Regions from separate parts of the Homo sapiens genome. Here regions 2 and 3 are each linked to region 1. Evidence: promoter capture Hi-C in human tissues and cell types (Jung and others, 2019). All regions are on one chromosome and are shown on one strand. The core of a region is centred on a gene start or on the middle of the fragment in contact, and the rest is flanking DNA. Distances in the headings are between cores, read along the strand shown. Region 1 has its middle 3.6 kb from the start of GMCL2. Region 2 holds the start of DOK3 (docking protein 3). Region 3 holds the start of DBN1 (drebrin 1).

Region 1 (4,507 bases), core at 2,003-4,502:
AATTGCCAATATAACGGCATTGAGACGTGGGGGGACCTTTCAGGGGTGTTTGGATCATGAGGGATGGGCCTTCACGACAGGATATTAATGCAAGTCCCATAGAAGTGAGTTCTCACTCTCTTGGGTCTGGATCAGTTACCTTCAGAGTTGGGTTGTCATCAAGCAAGGTCGCCCCTCGTGTTTTCCCCCTTTCCTCCAGGTGCCTGGTCCGCCTTCCATTTCTCTGCCACATTTTGGTGCAGCACACAGCTCTCACCAGAAGCTGCCAGATGCAGCCGTCCAATCTGGAACTTCCCAGCCTGCAGAACCGTGAGCTAAATAAACCTCTTTTCTTTAAAAATTATCCAGTCTCAGATATTCGAACAACAGAAAGTGGACTAAGACAAAGTAAAAAAAAGTAAAAAAAAAAAGGGGGGGGGGTGAAGTTAATTTCAATAATATATTTTACTTATTCTGAGATATCCAAAATATAATCAACAAAAAGTTATTGGGATATTTTCTTTTTGTACTGTCTTCAAAATCTAGTGTGTATTTTACACCTAAGCATATTTTAATTCAGTACAGCCACACTTCTTTTTCTTTTCCTCCCTCCCTTCCCTTCCTTCCTCCCTTTCTCCCTCCCTCTTTCTTTTTTCTTCCTTTCTTATTTCTTATTTTCTTTCTTCTTTCTTTTTCTTCTTTCTTTCTCTTTCTTTCTTTTCTCTCTTTCTCCTCCTCCTCCTCCTCCTTCTCTCTCTCTCTCTCCCTCCCTCTCTCTCTCTCTTTTTCTTTCTTTCCCTGTCACCCAGGTTTGGGATGCAGTGTTGCAATCATAGTTTGCTGTAACTTGAAACTGCTGGGTTCAAGCCATCCTCCCACGTTAACCTCCAAAAGTGCTGAGATTACAGGTGTGAGCCATCGTGACTGTCCCTGGCCACATTTCAAGTACTCAATAGCTGCATGTAGCCAGTGGCTACTATGATGAACAGGGCAGATCTAGACCAGGAGTTGGCAAACTATGGCCCATAGCCCAAATTTTGCTTACTGCTTGATTTTATATGATCCCTGAACAAAGAATGGTTTTTACATTTTTAAATCATTGAAAAAAAAATCAGGCTGAGTGCAGTGGCTCACACCTATAATCCCAGCACTTTGGGAGGCTGAGGCAGGCAGATCACTTGAGGTCAGGAGTTCAAGACCAGCCTGGCCTTGAACATGGTGAAACCCCATCTCTACTAAAAATACAAAAAAATTAGCCAGGTGTGGTGGCATGTGCCTGTAATCCCAGCTACTTGGGAGGCTGAGGCAGAGGATCGCTTGAACCCAGAAGGCAGAGGTCGCAGTGAGCTGAGATCACAGTCTGGATGACAGAGCAAGACTCTGTATCAAAAATAAATAAATAAATAAACAAATAAATAAATAAATAATGAAAATAATAATATTTCATGACACATAAAAATTGTATGAAACTCAACTTTCAGCATCCATAAATTAACTTTGACATTCTGTCAATAGCAATCCCCCCAAATTATGGAAGTTGGTTTCATTTCTTGGTATGTACTTACCGACTTCATACCCTCGATTTTGCCTGTTGGCCCAAAGCATAAAGTATTTATTCTAGCCAGGCGCAGTGGCTCATTCCTGTAATCCCAGCAGTTTGGGAGGCCAAGGCAGGTGGATCACTTGAGGTCAGGAGTTCGAGACCAACCTGGCCAACATGATGAAACCCCATCTCTACAAAAAATTCAAAAAATTAGCCAGGCATGGTGGCACATGCCTGTAATCTCAGCTACTTGGGAAGCTGAGGCACAAGAATTGTCTGACCCTGGGAGGTAGAAGCTGCAGTGAGCCGAGATAGCGTCATTACACTCCAGCCTGGGCAACGAGAGTGAAACTCTGTCTCAAAAATAAAATAAAATAAATTAAAAATAAATAAATAAAATAGAGATCATAAGACTGACAAAACAGACTTTTTTTTTTTAGACAGAGTTTCGCTCTTGTTGCCCAGGCTGGAGTGCAATGGCATGATCTTGGCTCACTGCAACCTCTGGCCCCCGGGTTCAAGTAATTCTTCTGCCTCAGCCTCCTGAGTAGCTGGGAATACAGGCGCCCACCACCACATCCAGCTAATTTTTTGTATTTTTAGTAGAGATGGGGTTTCACTATGTTGGCCAGGCTGCTCTCAAACTCTTGACCTCTTGACCTCAGGTGATCCACCCACCTCAGCCTCCCAAAGTGCTGGGATTACAGGTGTGAGACACCGTGCCTGGCTCAAAACAGAATTTTTGTAGCAATAAGATGCCAAATTTCTACCTGACTCTGGTACATCACGTAACAGATAGCAGACCCTGAAGGGCATCAAAATATTTTACCCCAAAATATATTTATTTGACAATATTTTGAAATGGCCCTGCAAAGCTGTCTCCCATGGGGGAAATTTGCATCTGTAGAGAATTTCCATTAATGTAGCCAGGACTTTGTCAGATTTAGGAGAGATTCAATGAGAGTCTGAGACTTTTGAAGGTCTGAAAAGAGACATTCACTATCTATTCTGAGGGCTGCTACCTGGAGGCTTCATCTACGTAACAAGAACCTCAGCTTCCACAACCCCTTTCTTAACCCAAGCATTTCTTCCCACTGACTTCAACGCTTTTTTTTTTTTTTTTGAGATGGAATCTCGCTCTGTCGCCCAGGCTGGAGTGCAATGCAACCTCCACCTCCCTGGGTTCAAGCGATTCTCCTGCTTCAGCCTCCAGAGTAGCTGAGACTACAGATGTGTGCTACCACACCCAGTTAATTTTTGTACTATTAGTAGAGACAGGGTTTCACCATATTGGCCAGGCTGGTCTCGAACTCCTGACCTCGTGATCTGCCCTCCTTGGCCTCCAAACTGCTGGGATTACAGGCGTGAGCCACCATGCCTTCAACTCTTTATTTTATTTTATCTTACTATTTTTTTTGGAGATGGAGTTTCACTCTTGTTGCCCAGGCTGGAGTGCAATGGTGCGACCTCGGCTAACTGCAACATCCACCTCCCAGGTTCAGGCAATTATCCTGCCTCAGGCTCCAGAGTAGCTGGGATTACAGATGCATGCCACCACTCCCAGTTAATTTTTCTATTTCTAGTAGAGATGGGGTTTCACCATATTGGCCAGGCTGGTATTGAACTCCTGACCTCAAGTGATCCATCTGCCTTGGCCTCCCAAAGTGCTGGGATTACAGGTGTGAGCTACTGCAACTGGCCTGTTTTATTTTATTTTTGAGACAGGGTCTCATTCTGTCCCCCGAGTTGGAATGCAGTGTCACAGTCATGGCTCACCATAGGCTCGACCTCCTGGGCTTAAGTAATCCTCCCACCTTAGCCTCCCAAGTAGCTGGGACTACAGGTGCACATCACGATGCCCAATTAATTTTTAAAATTTTTTTGTAGACACCGGGTCTCACTACGCTGCCCAGGCTTGTTGAAAACTCCTGGGATCAAGCCATCCTCCTCGGCCTCTCAAAGTGCTGGGATTACAGATGTCAGTCATTGTACCCAGCCACTTCAACTCTTTAGACAAAGCTTAACTTTTTCAACCAATTGCCAATCAGAAAACCTTTGAATCACCTATGACCTGTAACTCCCCTGGAGTTGTCCTGCCCTTATAGGCTGAAGCAATGTGTACTTTACATGTATTGATTGATGTATTTGCTTGTAACCTCTGTCTCCCTAAAATGTATAAAACCAAACTATAACCCAACCATCTGAGGCACACTTTCTCAGGACCTCTTGAGACTGTACCCCAGGTCATGGTCACTCATATCAGCTGAGAATAAACTTCTTTTTTTTTTTTTTTTTTTGAGATGGAGTCTCGCTCTGTCACCCAGGCTGGAGTGCAGTGGCGCAAGCTCTGCCTCCCGGGTTCACGCCAGAGAATAAACTTCTTTAAACATTTTACAGAGCTTTTTTTTTTTTTTTTTTTTTTTTTTGGTCAACATAGACCATTCACCTGGCCCCTTAACTCCAACAGAAACTCCAGATTTGCCTTTGGAATCAGGAGGCTGAGCTTCCTGACTTCCCAACTCTGGGATTTAGAACAAGTCACTTTCCCTATTGAAACCTCTGTTTTCTTCATCTGGGAATGGGGCAGGCACTCACATAGGTTTGAGGAAGCCACAGGGCTGGTCACTCTTCACTTGTGTCCAGCGTCCCATCCACCTCCCTGGCATGACCTTGCCTCCCCCTGCAGCACTGGCCCATCTAGGGCTCCCCACACCTACATATCTGGCCCTGATGCCCCTCGCCAATCTCTGCCCCCACTGTACCAAAGATGGAGCCCCGCATGGCGACTCCTACATTGCTCTGGGGGCACAGACCTCCATCTGCCTGGAACAGCCTCCCACCTTCCTCATCAAGTCCTGTTTTCTTACAGGAAGACACCCACATGCCCCAGCCATCCCATCCCCAAGGACTGGCCAAGCAGTTCCAGCACACCCCTCGGGTGGTCTCAGTGTGTGCCCTTCTCCAGTTCCTCCGGGTCTGGGCCTG
Region 2 (4,636 bases), core at 134-2,633, 680 kb after region 1:
GCCTCAGGACCCCCACCCACTGCCTGCCTGTGCCAGCCACCTGGAGGGAGCCCTCCATTCCGTTGACTGAGGAGGCAGCAGATGTCATAGAACTGCCATTTAGGCCACAAGCTCTCCCTAAGCCTGCTCTGTGCCCAGCTCTGCTGAGCTGTGAGGACCTAGATGGGCCAGGGAGATGGCTGCCTGGGAAGCCGTCAGGCGAGGGGAGAGAAAGACGCACACGCAGAAACGTGGACGGCAGTCACAAGACCGCTAGCAGATGAGGCAGGATCTCAGCATCTGGTGAGAGGTAGGCAGGGACGGCACAGGCGGCCACACTTCCTCTGAGCCAGGCACTTTGCATGTATGGCCACATGCTCATTCCAGTGAGACAGCGGTTGCTCAAGCCATATTTGTCACTTGATATGTGGCATTGGGCAAGTTACTTAATTTTTCTGAGCACCGATTTCCTCACTGTTGAAATGGCGATGAGAACGCAAAGGATGTGGCGTCTGAGGTGGACGGAGCTTAGGGCTGCTTGGGCCACAGTGGGCACAGAGCTGGGTGCCAGGAGGCCTTCAGGACATATTTCCTGGCCAAGTGCATTCCCAAATGGCATTCCTTATCCTCTTCCATGTTCTCTCCCAGAGGTGGTGCTGAATGACCTGAGGCTGTTCCAGAATAAAGGTATACACACAGCCCCGCTATTGGCATCTTGCTAGGCAAGCCAACAAAAGGCGCCCCCAGCAGGAAGCAAAGCTTTAAATGAACATGTGACCTCTCCGGGGCCCCCTGGGACCTGCCACCCACACTCACGTGGTTGGGGCCATTCAGGGCTGTGGGTCCCATGTGGACTGGATGCCCAGCGTGAGTGTATACCGTGAGGGCCTTTGAGCTCTCGGACAGCGTGGAGTGGTCAAGGGAGGCCTCCAGGAGGAAGAGGTGGCCAACCGCCCCAGGCAGCACAGTGGTGAGGGGGCCCTGGAGGGGCTGGCCTGGGGGAGATGCAGGCCAGAACACACAGGTCCCTGAGTGTTGGGCTGAGGAGCCTGGGCTGCACCCCAGGAAGGGGAGAGACAGGTTGGTCTTGGGTTGTGGAGAGTGCTGCATGGAGGCCCAGTGGGGCAGTGGCCCCTGGGGGGATGCCAAAGGCTGGTGATGTTCAGTGGCTCGTGAGGTGGAGAGGAGCAGGTGAACACGAGAGAGATTTCAGGGAGAAAGAAAAGCAGCAAGATGGGGTGAGGCGCTCAAACCAGGACGCCGAGTGGGAAAGCCAGGAGTTGGCTAGAGAAGGGTCCTGGGTGGAGGCAGGGCCAGGGAGTGTCAGGCCCAGGGTGCGCAGCTGCCCGGGGCGGGACGGGGGAGGGGCGGGAACTCATGACTCGGGGAGCCAGACTGCGATCAGACGCGCGTGCCCAGCTGAACCAGGTGCGTGAGAAGGCTGCCTTCAGGTGGCCGGGGGCTCCCTCCAGGTAGGTGTGGGCACCTTGGGCAGCCAGAACCCCAGGGAGGAAATACATGCTGCCCCCAGCCCCTGAGCTGAAGACAGGCTCCCCTCCCCCCGGCCTGCAGCTGTCTCTAGACGGAGGGACGGGAAGTGGCCAGAAGGGGAAGTGTGAGGAGTTCCCGTCCAGCCTGTCATCAGTCTCCCCAGGTCTTGAAGCGGCGGCCCTGCTCCTGGCCGTGACCATGGACCCTCTGGAGACCCCTATCAAGGATGGCATCCTCTACCAGCAGCATGTCAAGTTTGGCAAGGTGGGGACCCCTGGCTGCCAGGCAGCTGCCAAGGACCAACAGTGGGTGGAGAATGCAGCCTCTGCCCCTGCCTCGGACAGCCCAGGCAGACCTGGGAGACTTGGGAAGGGAGTCAGGGTGGAGGATCCCACCCAGGTATGGGGAGTGGAATGGAGTGCGGGTGTCAGCCTGAGACGGCAGGGGCTGAGCAGGCTCTGCCAGACCCTGCCTCCGGGAGAGATGGGAAATACAGGAGTGGGAGAGGGTCGAAGGCTCAAACCTCCCAGCAGGGAAGAGCTTCACAGCCTCTGACCCATGAAATAGTGCCACCGAGGGCCCTAAATAGGGTGAGGGGCTGAGCTGGAGGAGGCCTCAAGGGTGGAGCCCCTCCCTGCAGCGGCACTGTCCTGGGAGCAAGGAGGCAGGGGGTCACCTCTCCTCGGCAGCAGCCCCACACCCCCGCAGCTCAGCTGCAGCTGCTGCCCAGGCAGATAAACCGTCAGTTTCCTTTGCTCGAAGCTATTTGCATGTTTCCTTCCTTAACAGCTTGAGGCAGAGGCCTCCCTCCCACCCCAGCTCTTGGCCTGTGGCCCAAGTGCCCCTTTTTGGGGGTGAGAGGGAACCAATATAATGGCAGTGTCTGGTGGTCTGCCCGGCCACTGGATGCTTTACAAACATGACCCAGTAGCAGTCCCAGCTCGAGTTCTCATGGCCTTTTGAGAGACGACATTGATGCTTGTGGAGGTCACAGTTAGGAAAGAGCGGGCTGGGATTTGAACCCAGGGCTGACCAATCCCAAGCATAGCCAAGGCCTCCTTACCTGGCTCCCTGAGAAACTGGGGAGCAGAGGCCCGCTCCTGGCTGGGAGCGTTTGCCGAGCAGCTTGTGCTGAGCCAAGTGGCACGGACAATCTGCCACCCAAGGGTCTTCACCCTCCCGCTCCCCTCCCGCAGAAGTGCTGGCGGAAGGTGTGGGCTCTGCTGTATGCAGGAGGCCCATCAGGCGTGGCACGGCTGGAGAGCTGGGAGGTCCGGGATGGTGGCCTGGGAGCAGCGGGTGACAGGTCGGCAGGGCCTGGCCGGCGAGGGGAGCGACGGGTCATCCGCCTGGCTGACTGTGTGTCCGTGCTGCCGGCTGACGGCGAGAGCTGCCCCCGGGACACCGGTGCCTTCCTGCTCACCACCACCGAGCGAAGCCATCTACTGGCTGCTCAGCACCGCCAGGCCTGGATGGGCCCCATCTGCCAGCTGGCCTTCCCGGTGAGTGCGGCGAGCAGGGGGGCGATTGGGCTGGGGCACCTGCCCCCGACTTGTCCACCTCCACGCTCACATCCCATCACCCAGCAAGCTCCACCGAGCACCTACAAGCCTGGGAAAAGTAAATCTATAATGACTCTCAGAGGGCCGTGCGTGCCATGGAGAAAATGGACCGCCAGGGGAGCAGGAGGAAGTGAGGGAGCGACGGGCAGGGTGGCCAGGGAAGGCCTCTCAGAGGAGGGCCCTGAATGACAGGAACCCACTGGGCAAAGGTCTGAGGACAGGGGCAGCCTGGGGAGTTGTGAACAGAGGGAGTCCCGTGGGCAGAGGCCCCGAGGCCGGACAGTGTGGGGTGTTTAAGGGCAGAAAGAAGGCGACGTGGCTGGAAGGAAAGGAGTGCAGGAGGAAGCCAACTCACAGAGCTTAGGAGAGCGGCTGAAATGCCCTAGGCCATGTGTGTGGTTTTGTTCTGAGTGAGAGGCGAAGGCTTTGGAGGGTTTAAGCCGGACATGTTTGTAAAGCCCCAAAAGGTCTGTGATGGGTCAAAAGGAAGTGAGCCTGGGGGTTCTTCAAAGAGGTAAACAGAGTTACCATGTGGCCCACAGGTCCACTCCTAGGTGTGTGCCCAAGAGAACTTGAACAGGTGTTCAAACAAAACATGTACATGTGAGGCAGGAGGATCGCATGAGCCCCAGAGGTCGAGGCTGCAGTGAGCTGTAATCGTGCCACTTCACTCCAGCCCGGGAGACAGAGCAAGACCCTATCTTAAAAAAAAACCCACATGGACATGAACGTCCATAGCAGCACTACTCACAGCCACCAGAAGGTGGAAACAGCCTACATGGCCATCAGCTGACAAATGGATAAGCAAAACGTGGTCCGTCCGCAAGATGGAATACTACTCAGCCATAAAAACAAACAAACGCCTGGCACAGTAGCTCTTGCCTGTAATCTTAGCACTTTGGGAGGCTGAGGTAGGAGGATTGCTTGAGCCTAGGAATTCAAGATCAGCCTGGGCAACATAGTGAGACCCTGTCTCAAAAAAAAAAAAGAAAAGAAGAAAGAAAGAAATGTACAGACAAGGTAACTCCATTGGGATAGAAATCAGATGAGTGTTGGCAGGAGCTGGAGGAAGGGAGAAGTGGGGAGTGGCTGCTCATGGGTACAGGGCTTCCATGTGGGATGATGGAAAAGTTCTGGAACTAGACAGTGGCAACAGTGCACAGCCTTGTGAGTATACTAAAAAGCACTGGTGGCCGGGTGCGGTGGCTCAGGCCTATAATCCCAGCACTTTGGGAGGCCGAGGCGGGCGGATCACCTGAGGTCAGAAGTTCGAGACCAGCCTCAACATGGAGAAACCCCGTCTCTACTAAAAATACAGAAGTAGCTGGGCATGGTGGTGCATGCCTGTAATGCCAGCTACTCGGGAGGCTGAGGCAGGCAGAATTGCTTGAACCTGGGAGGCAGAGGTTGCGGTGAGCCGAGATCATGCCATTGCACTCCAGCCTGGGCAACGAGAGCAAAACTCCGTCTCAAAAAAAAAAAAAAAAAAAAGAAAAGAAAAAAAAGAGCACTGATGATACACTTTAAGATGTAAAATGGGCCGGGCGTAGTGGTTCACACCTGTAATCCCAGCACTTTGGGAGGCCGAGGCAGGCGGATTACCT
Region 3 (4,910 bases), core at 922-3,421, 720 kb after region 1:
TCAGAGGACAGTGACCAGTGGCCACCCACTCCCACCAGTCAGGGCAACTGAGAACTATGGGTCCACTGAGTTTGGCAAGTTAGGGGTTACTGGTGACCTTGGCCAGAGCAGTGCCAGAGAAAATGCGGGGAGGAGGAGACAGAGGACAGATGTCTGTCTGCATCCTATAGAAATGAGGGGATGAAGATAACCTGGAAGGGTGACGGGTGCGGAGACCAGGGGAGTGGGCTCTAGGGCATGCCAGCAGGGAACACCCTTGCTTCCCTGAAAATAGGGAAAACTGAGTGCAGGGTGTATGGGAACTCTCTATACTATCTTTGTAACTTTTCTGTAAATCTAACACTGTTCTAAAATAGAAAGTTTATTTAAAAATGTTGATGGCAAGAGGTGAGAGTGGGCGTGGCTGGAGAGTTTGTAGGTGGCTGGTGGGGAGGCAGGAATTTGAGGAAGGAAGAGCTTAGATGCATTTAGGGCTTCTGTTTTTTGGATGCAAAATTGAGTGTGCAGGAGGCTGGGGGGTGAGGGGAGCGGGGGGGGCGAGGAGCTGTGAGCTAGGACAAATCAAAGGAAGCTGGAAGAGGCTGAGGCCACAGATGCTCATGGCCAGCCATCTGCTGCCCCTCCCCGGCTGCAGGGTCTCCCTCCTCACCAGAATCAGGCTCTTCATGCCTAAGGGTGGGGGATGGCTGAAGCTCTGTCCCTCCATGGCTCTCCCCACTTCCCTTCCCCACCATGTGTCACCCACTCCCTTAGGGATCCCCATGGCAGGCCAACCACACCTACTGGCCAGTTGGTCTAGGGCACAGGGCCTGGCTGTGTCCCTGCCTGGGTGCCTCACTCTAGTGGTGGCCATGGAGAAATTGCCATGGCCTGTGGTCCCTAGACATAGTGGGCACTGACTTCCCAAGGCAGGGGCCTGTGAGTATTTTGAGTTTTAAGAGGGTTCTCCCAACTCCAAAGCGCCAGGAACACTGCCACATAGGCAGCCCTGCTCTCCTTCTCTTGGCATAGCCAATTACCCAACGCAGAACTCGGAGGCCTGGCTAGAACCACCTCCTCCTCCGCGGTGCGGTTGGGACCAGGTGAAGTTTGCTCAGGGAGGTCGAGGTTGGAGGCTTTGTAGTGGTGGAAAAGGCTTCTAAGCGCTGTGGACGGTTTCAGGGTCCCAACCTAGCAAGGAACGGAGTTCTGGAAGGCCCTGGCATGGTGTCCACTCCCTTGCAGGGGGTACTTTTCTGAGGCCCCCTCCCGTTCTGTGCTTAGAGCTTTAGGAGATAAAGGTGCCAAGAGGCTGGCCCTGAGCGTCCTTGGAGGAGCCCTGCCGTGGGAGTCTGGGGTTAGATGCTGCTTCCGGAACTCTACTTGGGACTCCTCTGGGAGGCGTGAGGCTTGAGAGAGAATGCAAAGGATCTCCTAGCTGGCCCCATCTGAGAGGGCACAGGCGTGGAGGGGAGGAGAGGCCTGGAATGGAGGGATAATGAGCTGGGTAGGGGCTGAGAATGGCCTGGAATAAGTGGTCATGGAGCCGAGATGGGGGGCTGTGGTTGGGAATTGGGAACTGGGATCAGGATGAGACTGGGATGGGTTGGACTGAAGATGTGCCGTGACACATGTTGGGGGGGACACGTGCTAAGCATGGGGCTGAAGCTGGGATGGGAAAGCAACTGGGGTGGATTTGAGGGTGGGATGCAGATGACAGTGGATATGATGGGATAGACTAGGCAAGGACCTCTCAGGGAAAGGAGACGGGCCAGGGGTGGGGTGTTGTGTGAGCTGGGTTGGGATGAAAATGGGTTTAACATGAGGTGGGACGCACCAGGAATGGAGATCAATGAAGCAATGGGTGGGGCGGAACCGGATTGGGACGGGGGGTGGGCGGGGGGAGGTGGGGACGGGACTGGGTTCGGGGCTGGAAGGAGGGCTAGCGCCGAGGTTACGGACGGGGCAGGTGAGGGTTCGGGACGTGGGTGGGGCTGGCCCTGGAGCGGCGCGCAGGGGCGGTGGGTGAGGGGCGCCCGGGGCAGGCCGGGAAGGGGGGGCGGGCCTCCCCCTGGGCCGGGCCGGGGCGGCGCTAGGACCGAGCGAGCGGAGGGAGCGAGCCGGGCGGAGCCAGCGCCCCCCGCCCCCCGCCGGCCGGCTCCCCTCCCCCGGCCGCTGGCTCGCTCGGCTCGCGACGCTGCAGAGGCTCCGAGGCGGCGGCGGCGACTCCCTCTTTCCCTCCCTCCTCCTCCGTCCGCCCGTCCGTCCGCGCGTCTGTCCGTTCGGCCCGGTCCGGCCCGAAGCATGGCCGGCGTCAGCTTCAGCGGCCACCGCCTGGAGCTGCTGGCGGCTTACGAGGAGGTGATCCGAGAGGAGAGCGCGGCCGACTGGTGAGCCCCCCGCCCCCGCCCCCGGCCCCTTTGTCCCCGCGCCGCCGCCGCGCCTTTGTTTCTCTCCCGCCCCGCCGCCCCGCCGCCGGGAAGGGAGGGGGACCCCGAAATGGTGCAGCGGGCCGGGAGGGCCGGGAGGGGCTGCCTTTGTGCGCGCCGGGGGAGGGGCCGGCGGGCCAGGCGGGGCACTGCCGGGCCCCGAGCGCCCGGAGGCGGCCCAAGGCGCGCGGTGGGAGCGGCGGCCGGACGCGGCCCGGAGGCGCGGGGTCCCGATGTGGGGCCCGGGGCCGCGTGGCCCTGCGGGAGCCCATCCCCCACCCTACCCCCCGGGCCCGGGGGACAGGTGTGCACGGGGCGGCCAAGGGCACCTTCGCCACCTTCGAGCGGGCGAGGTCCGGGCGGGGACGGGGCGGGGACCGAGCTAGCGGAGCCAGCGCAGCCTGCCCGGCTCAGCCCGGCCCGGCCACAGCACAAAGGAAAGCGAGGGCGGGGGAGGAGCGGAGCGGGCTGGGGGCCGGGCGCCCCGCCCACCGGGGGGCCTCTCGGAGTGGGCCGCCCTCCCCCCGAAACCTGGGCTGGAGTGAGGTGGAAGGATGTTTGCTGCCACATGGCGACCGCGAAGTGACTCCCTTACCGCCGCGGGTCGCGGAGGAGGCAGGGGTGAGCTCTCCTCCCCTACCTGAAGGGGACTGCGGGGACTAGGCAGCTGGGCTGGGGGGCACCGAGCTGCCTAAGGGGCCAGCTGAGATCCCTGGGAGGAAGCCCTCTGGAGAACAAGTGTGGAGGGAGCCCCCAAAGACGGCTGAAGGGGTGAACAGATCCACCGGCCCCCAGCAAGGGGCACTCGGTCCCTGATGGGGGAGGAGCTGGGCCGCCCCTCACCCCGCCCCCCAGCTGTTGTCTCCCGCTGAGCTGGGGGAGGGGATGGACCACCTGCTCTGGGGCTGGCGGCCCAGGGTGGTGGAAAAAGGAAACCGAGGGGTTCCTCACAGCCCCATCCTGGAATCCTTTAACCCCCCCGTAATACTCTTCTTCTAGGGAAGGTGCCCATCTGGTTCCTAGGCCTCCTCTCCCTGCTGGCAGATGGGAACAGGTTCTTCTTGAGGAAACTGAGGCAAAGAGGAGGGCAGGTCTGAGGGACCCCGCTTGGGCTGGCCTCACCCGCACACTGGGAGGGCAGCCAGGTGGGGACTCTGACCTGGGGGCTTCTGGAGGAGAGGATGAGATGGCTGGGCATCCATGGCATGGTACTGCAGCACTGGCCAGCAGCCAGGCCTGGAGGGATGGACGCGAGAGACAAGCTCTCGTGTCCTGCAGGTCAGTCACAGGAGAGGCCGGCACAGGCTCAGCAGGCAGGCGGCCCACCCATTGTCCCAGCCCTGCCCCAGGGGGGCTGAGATCATGGGAGGAGCTCTGGGCAAGTGGCCGGCTTGGCCTGGTGAAGGAGCTGGCTTTGGGATAAGGCCCCGCCTGGGGAGAAGCACAGCTCACCCCAGAACACCTCCTTTGCCCTCCAGCCTGGAGGGGTGTTGTCTACCAACACCCCATTTTCTCCTAAAAGCAGAGCTCTGGTGGCCTATTGCCAAGGCCACACAACCCCTGTTGCCCCACATCCTGCTCAACACAGGCCTGCCCCCACCCACCCCAGCAGCATCCGTGTGGCCAAAGCGAGTTATTCATCACTGGTGTGCGTCAGCCCCCATCTGGGTTGTGTGTGGGACACACACAGATGCACACATGTACCCTCGCACATGCACACATTCGTTCACTAAGGGCCCAGATAACATTTTGAAAAAGGGGTGTGAGGATCACTTTCTACACAAGAGAATATGAATACCCCAGGGCCCAGCATGGAACCAGGGGTGCAGTGAGGTCTGAAGACTCAGAGGCAGACCCTGCACATAGGTCCAGAGGGAGGGGTGTCTTGGGTAAATTGCTGTCTGCCCCCCGACCCTTACCTTGCCTCCAATGGGGAGGGGTGGTTGGGGGAGTTCACTCCTAGGTGGCAGGGCCTCTGAAGTGCACCACTACTCTGGCACAGGGAGCAGGGGACCCAGGAAATGAGGTTGTGTGGTGGGAAGGGCCACTGTTGTCCTGGTTGTGATATGACTCACTGTGATCATACACAAGTTCCTGGTCCTCTTGGAAAGAAAAGGGATTGGGCCCAGCACTACCTCGGATACTGAAGGCCTTTCTAGCACCACCATCCTGAGAGTGATGGTCCTGCGGGGTCCACCTGCCCTCAGCCCCCGACTCCAGCTCACCCTCCACCCCAGCTCACCCCCCATCCCAGCTCACCCCAGGGTCTCTGGAACTGCCACATTCCAGCTCCCACCTCACGCTAGTTCAGTTTATCTGGCTAGATGGCTTTTGAGTTGGTGTCAATATCACACATACTTCTGGTATGCGGTGTGCTGGACCCCAGGACCCAGAGAGCAGGATGTGCTGATTGACTGAGTCAGCGTTCCTGCCTTCACCAGGCTTACAGCTGGGGGCAGTGTCTGTCTCCAGGAGTTGGAGCTGGTGAGATGTGTAGATGCC

What was found. Contacts are between HindIII fragments. The study calls those that stand out against the background at their distance.
Region 2: the fragment with the promoter of DOK3 here is called in contact with a fragment that was not itself captured in region 1 in 1 of the 25 tissues and cell types used here (lymphoblastoid cells).
Region 3: a contact is called between the fragment with the promoter of DBN1 here and a fragment that was not itself captured in region 1, in 2 of the 25 tissues and cell types used here (liver and lymphoblastoid cells).

The regions. Positions count from the first base shown.
Region 1 is chr5:178,188,751-178,193,257 of GRCh38, reverse strand. No RefSeq gene overlaps it. Among named protein-coding and RNA genes, the nearest start is that of GMCL2, 3.6 kb to the right of the region's middle. The HindIII fragment of the contact is 8,651 bases long and covers 1-4,507 here.
Region 2 is chr5:177,506,573-177,511,208 of GRCh38, reverse strand. It overlaps DOK3 (docking protein 3), which reads left to right and starts at 1,383. Exons shown (of 6, transcript NM_001308236.3): 1 at 1,383-1,451; 2 at 1,552-1,734; 3 at 2,667-2,972. The coding sequence starts at 1,669. RefSeq lists enhancers at 978-1,127, 2,948-2,997, 3,018-3,127 and a silencer at 1,258-1,397. The HindIII fragment of the contact is 13,536 bases long and covers 1-4,636 here.
Region 3 is chr5:177,470,895-177,475,804 of GRCh38, reverse strand. It overlaps DBN1 (drebrin 1), which reads left to right and starts at 2,171. Exons shown (of 15, transcript NM_001363541.2): 1 at 2,171-2,369. The coding sequence starts at 2,284. RefSeq lists silencers at 1,934-1,983, 1,994-2,373, 2,454-2,653, 2,684-3,053, 2,973-3,159 and enhancers at 2,308-2,809, 2,810-3,313, 4,884-4,910. The HindIII fragment of the contact is 16,715 bases long and covers 1-4,910 here.